Regions from separate parts of the Homo sapiens genome. Here region 2 is linked to region 1. The links are contacts of gene promoters, found by promoter capture Hi-C in blood cells and fetal thymus (Javierre and others, 2016). All regions are on one chromosome and are shown on one strand. The core of a region is centred on a gene start or on the middle of the fragment in contact, and the rest is flanking DNA. Distances in the headings are between cores, read along the strand shown. Region 1 holds the start of AGO3 (argonaute RISC catalytic component 3). Region 2 overlaps THRAP3 (thyroid hormone receptor associated protein 3).

The links. The method cuts DNA at HindIII sites, captures the fragments that hold promoters and counts their contacts. A CHiCAGO score of 5 or more calls a contact.
Region 2: a fragment that was not itself captured here is called in contact with the fragment with the promoter of AGO3 in region 1 in 1 of 17 cell types (monocytes); the score reaches 5.0 in monocytes.

What each region holds. Positions count from the first base shown.
Region 1 is chr1:35,929,753-35,935,013 of GRCh38, reverse strand. It overlaps AGO3 (argonaute RISC catalytic component 3), which reads right to left and starts at 3,909. Exons shown (of 19, transcript NM_024852.4): 1 at 3,569-3,909. The coding sequence starts at 3,587. AGO1 (argonaute RISC component 1) reads right to left here. Exons shown (of 19, transcript NM_012199.5): 19 at 4,482-5,261. RefSeq lists enhancers at 2,722-3,244, 3,245-3,769, 3,770-4,293 and silencers at 3,407-3,746, 3,757-4,266. The HindIII fragment of the contact is 14,155 bases long and covers 1-5,261 here.
Region 2 is chr1:36,280,197-36,285,457 of GRCh38, reverse strand. It overlaps THRAP3 (thyroid hormone receptor associated protein 3), which reads right to left. Exons shown (of 12, transcript NM_005119.4): 3 at 2,758-2,925. The coding sequence starts at 2,894. Among named protein-coding and RNA genes, the nearest start is that of SH3D21, 24 kb to the left of the region's middle. The HindIII fragment of the contact is 1,739 bases long and covers 2,348-4,086 here.

The sequences.
Region 1 (5,261 bases), core at 2,660-5,159:
GCAGTAATTTGATTTTTTTTCTTCAAGGCAAAGAACTACAAGTGAGAAAATTTATATAACGACAAAAACATTTCTCAAAGTTATTAAAGAAGATTGTTTTCTGGGAGGCCGAGGCAGGCAGATCACCTGAGGTCAGGAGTTCAAGACCAGCCTGGCCAACATGGTGAAACCCCGTCTCTACTAAAAATACAAAAAATTAGCCAGGCATGGTGGTGCGCGCCTGTAATCCCATCTACTCGGGAGGCTGAGACAAGAGAATCACTTGAACCCAGGAGGCAGAGGCTGCAGTGAGCCAATATCATGCCACTGCACTCCAGCCTAGGCGACAGAGCAAGCAAGACTCCATCTCAAAAAAAATAAATAAATAAAAAGAAGATTGTTTTAAATACTAAATTGGGACCCTGATGGCATTACATATTTTAGTAGGTATTTTTGACCCATAATTTTTATCTACATCATTCAAATCCCAATCTTGATTTAGTTCTAGCTTCCCATATATGCAACTTTTATTCCTTTGGAACTTGGTTCCAAATAACTTTTCTAAAACTTTTATTATTAAATAAACACAGAACTCTAAAACAACTATTTTCAGACATGAATTTAAAAGTGTAAATAAGAAAGAAACAGTCTATTCACTTTTGCAAGACTGTATAAAACTTCCACCAAACATCAAACAATTTGCATGTCATTAATTTAAGGTAAAAGTAAATGTTTTTCTTCCATTATAAAGTGTAGTTCCTCTGTCCTAAACGGTAGTCTAACATTACCTGAAAACATAGACTAGAATAGTATGGACCTAAAAAATGAGTACTCAGGAGAAGTAACATCATCAAGCATTTCTGCAGCTCCCTATTCCCACTTTATTTAGAACTGAAACATAACCTATACTCTTAGTTCAGCAGTAATTAGACCATAAAAAACGGTGTTTCATCAGATGTTCCCCAACTAAAGAGTCACAGACACAGATGTTAAACTGTTGATTAATTTTTAACTAATTTCACCTTTTTTTTTGTTAAATCAAAGTTCTGATGGTACTAAATCAGTAGATTGCACAAGATATCCTTAAAAAGCATTTAAAATATTTCATATGAAAGAACAAATACTAACTTATATGGTATTTGTGTTCGAGGTTCCCTAATGTAAACAAATTTAACAGTTTTCTGTGTATCCACCGAGCAACTAGAATTTAAAATATCCTATCACAAGATGATTCCTGAGAATCTCCACAAAAAAGAAAAACTTATGGCAGAATTGGAAAGCCAAGATTCAATACTGAGTCAATAGACTTTTTGAGAACATTTATACTAAAATTTTAAAATCAAAATACGTGTCAAATGATGATTTTTTTTTTTTTTTTTTTTTTTTTTTTTTTTGAGACAGGGTCTTGCTCCGTCACCCAGGCTGGAGTTAGTGGCGCGATCATAGCTCACTGCAATCTCTGCCTTCTGGGCTCAATCCATTCTCCTGCCTCAGCCTCCCAAGTAGCTAGGACTGGAGACATGTGCCACAATTCTCGGCTAAGTTTTCTGTTTTTTGTAGAGGCAGGTCTCACTATGTTACCTAGGCTGGTCTCCAACTGCTGGGCTCAAGCGATCATCCTTCCTCAGCCTCCCAAAGTGCTGAGATTACAGGCATGAACCACCACACCCAGCCTAAATTATGGATTTAAAATTTAGTTGCACAGCTATGCTTTCAACTTAAAGCTAAGCATACCAATTATATACAAGTCTCAGGAATAATGAAAATTTTGTTTCTGATGACAATCTTGAGCCAAAGTATAGCTTATCTTCATTATTAGGCTACATTCAATCATGTATAAACTGTACTGAAGAAAAAACTTTACTTTTCAAGAGACCCAGGCATATAGTTGATAATCTAACTACACACTTCCCCAAATGTGAAGACAGCTAAATGGGTATCCATTTCAGCAATGGGACACCCAAAAAAGAAGAGGTAAAATGTATTTTCTGAGCTGTACTTGGCTTAGTTGTACCAGTTGACTAGGTGGTTTGATGTAACAAATGTTTTCTAAGACATTTCCCATATATATGGGCACAATATCATATGAAAAACCCTAAGGAGAAAAAGAAAAAACTTTAAAAACTTTTTTGAAATATCTTTAAAAGTTTTGGGATGATTAATAAAGGGTCTGACCTTCATGACTTGTTTTCCAGACTTGACAACAGGACAGTTATGTACAAAGATCACCTATGGTCCCAAATAATCACATCTCCTGTACAGTAAAACAGTAGTATGGTAATTTTTTTAAAAGGGCAGGACAGTTTCAGAAATACACAAATCAAAACTGAATAAGAGTCGAAATCTTTTCACAATCCAGACAGACCTTTTAAGACGATATGGGGGAAAGCGAAACAATGGAGCAGGAAAAAGAGATATGGTCTAAATTGATTAGAGAAACTTCCATGTAACAAAATTTGTAAAAAAAAAAAAAAAAAATTTGTAACTCTCTCCCCATCTCATCTCCCCAGTTTGAGTGCTTTTTTGCAACCATTTGACACGTAATCTATTCAACAAAGTTCTTAGCTATCGTTATGTCACTGGTTTCTTTTACGTAAGTTTTTCTTATATCAAATTGGCAAAAAGAGATATGGAATTCAGGAACTTGTAACACCATTAGTAACAAGACAGCCCCGCAAATATTTTGAAAATTAATTTACGAACTTGTGATCGTCTGAAGCATACTTTCAAATTTAATAAGCCAAGCATGATCATTTGTTAGGCAAACCGTTATGCAACACCTTTCTGTCCCTGAATTAATTACTTTAGAACCATAAACAATACTTTTCCTTTTTTAAGGACAAGTACTATCCATGTTGCAATTTTCTCTTAAGACTGCAAAACTGCTGCTCTTGCCCCCAGAGATAAAGCAGTTTTCTTAAATTCCAAATTTCCAGGAATATGACAACTACTTCTCTAAGGAATAGAGAATGAAAAAAAATATACTGTCAGCAATTTTAAGAACCACCTCCTCGTATAAGCAGGGATCCAGGCTGCTATGACATTTCCAAGCTCCTCAGAAACTATCTACCATGCTGCCACAAACAACAGAAAAGAACTCGAGGGTAGGAGCAATGCCATGTTGAATTTAACGTTGCACCAACACCTCCTTCGAACTTAATCTGAAGTTATCCGTTATCTCAGCCTATCTTCACAACTATCCTAAGAGGTAGGTAAGGGAGCTGGCTGGCTGCCCAGCCTCTACGGAACACACAACCTGGCTAAAGGACACGCACTCCAACTAGACAATGGCAAACCATTCTAAAGTCTAGAAGAAGGGTACTCCAGCAAAGAGTAATGCCGCCTAGATAACCCCAAACTTAAATCCTCCAAGCGTTTCCCCGCCTCGCAGTTTCGCCGACTCAGGGGCCCCCGGGGAACTGGGGCTGGGCTGCGGGGAGGTCGCGGAGGAGCAGGGCGAGGGGCGGGAGACCGAGCGATGCCCGCCCGACGCTCACCTCGCGCACCTGGGCCGGGCGGGAGGAGCAGGGATGCTCAGAGGACAGTAGCTGGGTGACATCCCCTACCTGGCCCAGCTACTCTGACTCACCTGCGGAGCCGATTTCCATTCATGGAGCTGGGGGGAGTGCTTCGAGGGAGAACGGAGCCCGCCACTGGCGGCAAGGAGGCGGCCCGGGGGGCGACGCGGCGCGACGCGACGGGCACTCTCACTCGGCCCCGAGGCGGGGGCGGCGACGGCTTCCCCTGAGCAACCGCACTCCGAAAGCTCTGGGCCGGAAGAGTCGCGGACGGAAAACGGCACAGGACTAGGCGAGAGGAAGGGGAGATGTGAGGCGCGGACAGAGGGGAGTCCCGTCCGGAAGTTGCATCGCCCGCGGCCGCCGACGCTCCCACCGCTCCTCCACGACTGCGGGCCGCCGCCGCCGACCTGCCCGGGGCCGCCCCGGAAGCTCGCCGGCGTCAGTTCCGCTGCCTGGCTTGCCCGGCGTCCTCGCCTCGCCTCTGGGCCCCGAGCCGTGCCGGAGCGACGTCGGGGCAGGAGCGGCCGGCGCGGAGGACGCCGGGGAGGTGTCCGGGAGCCGGGCCACATGCGGCGGGCTCGGCCGTACCCCGCCGGGCCGTGCCGGCCGGAGACAACGCGGAGGGGCAGGACTACTCGCGCCGCACGAGTGGGGGCGGTGCCTGTCTGCGACGACGTCGCGGCTGGCGGCGGGGCTTACCTGAGGAGTAGCCTACCTGGAGCCGGCGGGTGAAGGACCCCGAACTGCCGCGGAGGCCCCGAGCCGAGCCCGCTGGGGTAGGGCCACCCTCCTTCCTGAGCCCCCGCCACGCCCAGTCCGATCCACCCCACGCGCCGCCTCCTCACAGGCGGTCAAGTGACCACCGCAATTGACCTAAGTCCTAGGCTGCTTTAACGACCATTTTTAGGAAAAAAAAAATGTATTATAGTTTGGAAAAGATGACTAACAAACAGGACACTACACAAACATCAGATCGAGTAATTTCCATGTTTAAAACTCTTTAATAGCGCCTCGTCACACTTGAAAACCCAAACTCCTTTCCAGGGTGAAAACGCACGGCGTAAATGGGCCCCGCCTGTGCTACAGCTATACTGGTTGGCTTCCAATTCTCCCAACGGGCCAACCGCTGCTTTTTTCTGACTTGGAGCTTCTCTGCTTTTGGTTCCCTTGGCCAGGAACCCTCTCTCTCTTCTCCACCCTCCCCTTACGCCCTACCCCACAGCTTTTTTTTGCGTCTCAACGAAAGACATCTGAGACGCCTTTTCCGGACCACCCATCTATGGTGGGGCACCTGTTAGTCTACTACAGTATTGCCTTGGTAGCCCTTTGCCCAGTCTGTTATTTATTTACTACTTGTGTGCCCCCCACCTCACTTGAATGTCAGGCAAATATTAGGTCCTTAATAAATATTTGTTGCCTTAATGAAACATACTATTTTATTCAGGCTGAGGAATCATTCATAATTTCTCCCCATGTCCCTATGCTTCAGTAATACGGTTTTTTTTAATCAAAATAATTTTTTAAAGAGGAAAAGGAGAAAGAATATCCTATCTTCAGTTCCCCTCACTGTGGGACTTTGGATCAGTCACTTGATCTCTCTGGGCTTCAATTTTCTTATCTGAAAAATTGAGAGAACAGCATGTACCTTACACAGTTTGTAAGGTTAGGTAATATACATAAAGCACAGAGAAAATCCTCCCCAAATGTTAGTGAATAACACAAGTATTTACTATTTACCATTTTAAAGTACTTACCATATAA
Region 2 (5,261 bases), core at 1,968-4,467, 350 kb before region 1:
TTCCTGAGTGTCAGGCTTGTCAATGATGAGAAACTTTGTTTCCATCAAAAAGCCAAAAATTACGTATGTTGGTGTAAAAACCCATTGGGGTTCTTGGATCCACTTTTCCTATCTACTATGATATAGATCATTGACATTAACCACTACTCCTAAGCAGCTGGCTACAAATAAGTAAAATTTACTAGAAAACTCTTTCAAATAATATTTTCTTTACATATAGAATAAAAACTCTTCAGTTAATCAGCAGGCTTTCTCATATCTGACTGGGAACAGATGCATTTTTGTTTTTTCCAAATAACTCCAGTTAGCAAATATACTAGTTTCTTTTCAGGATTTAACAACTAAACAAAACAGTATTTTTAAGAAGAAAGTACATTCAATTTAATCTAAAGATAAAGTGGGATTGGTTTTCCACTATTTATTGCCCACTGTACTCAGATTTTTTTATCTACACCATGAATAAGAGCAACTGGCAAAGATATATCTTACTGCTGGTTGTTATTGTAATTAAGTACAATTAAAAAAAAACTTACCTTCCACACTTTTCATTTGAAAACAGTAACAATATAAGAAAAGAAGGGAGAGGCAGATGCAGATTATGAAAGTGAATACAACCCGATTAAAGGGCTATGCTTGAGGGAGGTGATCCACCACCAGCACTAAGGAGGGTTTAATTCATGTTCCCATCCTCACAGGCTACTGCTGCTTCTGTTACCAATTACTAGTGAGGGCCCTGGGCATACTGCATCCAAAACTCACAGTCATTGCACAGATGCAGGAAAATGAGTCTCTGCAGATTGCAAATGAAGTTATTTAAGAGATGTCACTTAAAAGGATACAGTCTGTGAAATACAAGGAAATAATCAATTTTCTCCAATTCTGTAGAACTCAGCAGTTAGTTAATTTAAAGGCATGGTTTCTCAAACTCTCTGGATAGATACTTTCCTTGCAGGAGAGGGAAAACAAAAGAAAAAACCATGAAACAGATAAGCCAGAAATAAAAACTGAACATCCAGTGGCAAATTTATCTGTTTCTAAAAACAGAGAAGTCAGATTACAATCAATTATAAAAGCATACTTTCTAGTGGAGAAATTCCTCCAGAAAAGTCTCTTCTAGGTATATGATAGCATGTAAAGTGTCTCTAGACCTACCCCAGCACATACTGCCTTCCTAAAATATTTTTTCCTCATTTGCCAAGTCAGTGAGCAAGTGCCAAATGATTTGCAGAACAAGGAGAAAAGAACTGCCCGGAATTCCAGCTGTCATAAATACTTCAGAGTTGGTTAACATTTTTCAATTCAATTTTGTCTCTCAGTTTTGGTTGCATAGCCTCTTGGTGTTGAACCAATTATTTAGTTTCTTCTAGTTACTAGATTAAATTTTAAAAAGGTATCTTTCATAACCAAATGAGCTAAAACTGAGGTTTAAACTCCCTAAATCAAGATTCTGGGTACAGGGTAGGAGTTACTAAGAGTCTTGCTGGTCCCATGGCTTTAAAAGCAATTTCCTGAGGTAAATAAATTTAGGGTTTCCCTTTTCAATATTTATGCATACCTGCTTTTTCAGGCTGGCTTCTCATAGACTCCATTTAATATCTACCTTGTTTTTGTTAAATGGTAAAAAAACAAAACTACTAATCCTTTGTTTAATAGACCCCTTAGAAGTACTATAGGGCTCTGGAAATCATCAAGAGTAAAAGTTTAATCACTGACTTCTGAGGTTTATTTTAAATGTCGTAATCAATTCATCTAAGACAAGGATTCTAGATACTCATCTGAAATAAACAGCTAATCAATTCATCTAAGACAAGGATTCTAGATACTCATCTGAAATAAACAGCAGGGGTTCCAAGTGTCAAACATGACAAATCATCTCCTTGCTAATGTACTTGTGGGAAAAAGAATGAAAATGTACAAAGATTCCTCTTCAGCACACCAATTTAAATACACCAATATTTCCCAAACTCACATATAGAAACTTGTTATTTACTGAAAGCTTCTTATCTATCCACAAAAGAAAGTTTAAACACTTTTAAAGAATGAAAAATCCAACTCACAACACACCAAGAGAGGAAAGACGCTGGAGGTTTGGCATCCTATTCCAAGACATAATTAAAATAGGGAAATCCACCTGAAGGTGTGAAAACTGACTGAATTAGGAAATACTGGCAATAAATTCAAAAGAACTGTGCTCATATTCAGTAAGATAAAGTGATGTTTTCAATAGCGATTTTTAAAAAGTTTTAAGATACATTTACTAAACAGATGCAGCTTGTTAGTAATTGGCACATTGTATACAAATTACTCCTGATAAGTTTCTGTAAGTTTATTTTAGTGAGTTGAAGCTTCTTTTCCTTGCCATGTTGTTCATATTATTAATCCTCTTAGCTATCCTTTCTTTGCAGTGATGCACATAAACTTTGGTTCAAGCCTTCAAAAATAATTTGGTGAAAAATAATCAGCTATAGAGATTTGAAGCAAGCAGCTCAAATAAAAATAAAATGTTCTTTCTTCCAAAGTGGGTGGGAAATACTATGTGCTGGCAGAGGAAAGGAATCAGGCAATCAGCATGGCAGTCAAAGCTGATCTGGATTTGTAGTTTAAAGAGACCTGGAATATCTTATAGCCCAACCCTGCACCTCAAGCCAACCCCCCAGTCCATTTGACACTCACAGGAAAAGTCTAACAAAAGATCTTCAAACATCCACATCGACTGATGCAATGATTATCTCAATATACAAAGTCACACCCCCTTACCTCAGCCTGCGCTTCCTTGAACGAGAGAGAGATCGGCTTCGGGACCGAGACTTCGAAAATGAACGAGAACGAGATCTTGATGCAGATCTTGAGCGAGAAGAGCGAGATCCAGACTTGGATTTGTTTGTTTTTGACATCTCTGAAGAGAGGATCACTTTTCAATTACACCTAATGTAAGAAAATGCATTAGAACAAATGAGTGAGTTCCTTTGCAAATGTGAACCTCTTTGGACATTTTAGAAACACATTTCTTTTAATCTGGGCAACTTGAGAAGACCCCATATCTACAAAAAAAAAAAAAAAATTTTTTTTTAATTAGCCAGTCACAGTGGTGCGTTCCTGTAGTCCTAGCTATTTGAGAGGCTAAGACAGGAGGGAGTGCAAAGTTACAGTGAGCTGTGATCACACCTCTGCACTGCAGCTCTGGAGGAAAGAGCAATACCCTATCTCCAAAAAAAAAAAAAAGAGAGAAAGTGGCTGAGCACGGTGGCTCACGCCTGTAATCCCAGTGCACTGGGAGGCCAAGGTAGGAGGAGGACTGCTTAAGTCCAGGTGTTCAAGACTAGCCTGGGCAACATAGCAATATCCCGTGTCTACAAAGTTAAAAAAAAAATTTTTTTTTTCTTGAGATAGGAGTTTTGCTTTTGTTGCCCAGGCTAGAGTGCAATGGCTTAATCTCAGCTCACCACAACCTCCGCCTCCCGGGTTCAAGCAATTCTCCTGCCTCAGCCTCCCAAGTAGCTGGGATTACAAGCATGGGCCACCATGCCCGGCTAATTTTTTTGTATTTTTAGTAGAGACAGGGTTTCTCCTTGTTGGTAAGGCTGGTCTCGAACTCCCGACCTCAGGTAATCTGCCCGGCTCGGCCTCCCAAAGTGCTGGGATTACAGGCGTGAGCCACCGTGCCTGGCCTACAAAGTAAAAACTTTTAAAATTAGCTGGATGTAGTGGTAAGGGCCTGTAGTCCTAGCTACTCCAGAGGCTAAGGTGGGAATGGCCTGAGGCCAGGATTTTGAGACCAGCCTAAGCAACATAGGAAGATTCCCCCACCTCTACAAAAAAAACAACTGTTTAAATAAAATAAACTTTAAAAACAGAAAGTAACATTAAAAAAAAAAAAAAGATGAAATGACTGATTTTTAAAAACCACTCTGCTCTTTCATCAAAAGGAATTTCTTAGTAGTACAAATCCCAAACAGACCAAGCCACAGCAGCAAATGGAAAACCTGACATGTAACCCTAACTGGGTAATACTGTAAGAGATGACCAAGAATGAGGGTGCTTATTAATTTTGGTGCATGCAGTCTTTTCTCAGTAAGCAAAGAAGCTTTGAGACTAAAGTCAGCTGTTAATAAAAGTAATGAGGAGATGTGAGACAGGTTTCCTAGTTCCAAGAGAAGAAACCGCATGCAATTTAACTTAGTTACAGAGTATGTGGCACATCTAGTCATAAAGAACCATCAATTTGTTCCAGCTCTTTATTACAAAAGAGTCAGCTGGGGGCGGTGGCTCACGCCTGTAATCCCAGCACTTTGGGAGGCTGAGGTGGGCTGATCACCTGAGATCAGGAGTTCAAGACCAGCGTGGCCAACATGGTGAAACCCCATCTCTACTAAAAGTAGTGGCGGGTGCCTGTAATCCCAGCTACTCAGGAAGCTGAGACAGGAGAATCTCTCGAACCCAGGAGGCAGAGGTTACAGCGAGCCAAGATCGCGCCATTGCACTCCAGCCTGGACGACAAGAGCAAAACTCCGTCTCAAAAAAAAAAATAAATAAAAATAAAGAGTCAACTTTCTTTCAGGGTCATTTTCCCACCAAGAAACAAATAGTCTTTTTCCTTTTTTCCCCCTCCAGGAAAGAAGAGCGCCTCTAAGTTGCCCTGAGAGGTTAACGCCTGGTCTACAAGGTATACTTCTCTCCTTTATACTCTATTAGCGCCTTGGACATCTTCCCAGCAGTAAAAACTTTAAGTGCTAAAGTACATGTCTATCAAAGACAGTAAGAGTAAGGAATCTATCAAAGATCACAAAGCTAATTAATAGCCAAACCAGGCCCAAACTCCAGGGCCTATTCTATCACACTTTGCTGCCTAGCGAGATTCTGCCAAGTAATGCTGCCTCTTGTCTGTGAAGGGAAAATAATAATCAAATATTTCTCCCCTCCTACCCCTCAGAATTTGAAGATCTCAGCTCAAAAGCTATCTCCTCAGAGGTTCACCCTGACCACCCAGTCAAAAATAGCCACCAGTCATTCTCTAGGTCCAGTATGTATCTTATTTGTTTCTTCAGAGCAAAACTCAGTATGTGAAACTATCTTGTTTACTTGTTATTCTGTCTTTAATTAGAATGTAAGCTCTATAACAACAGAAACCTCATCTTTCTTTATTTAGTGCTGTATACCCAACGCCCAGAATAGCAAATGCTTAACCAGTGTTTTTATTAATTCATTTTATCCTTGAGGAGGGCATTTTTAATCCCGTTTTACAGATAAGAATTTTGAGGCAT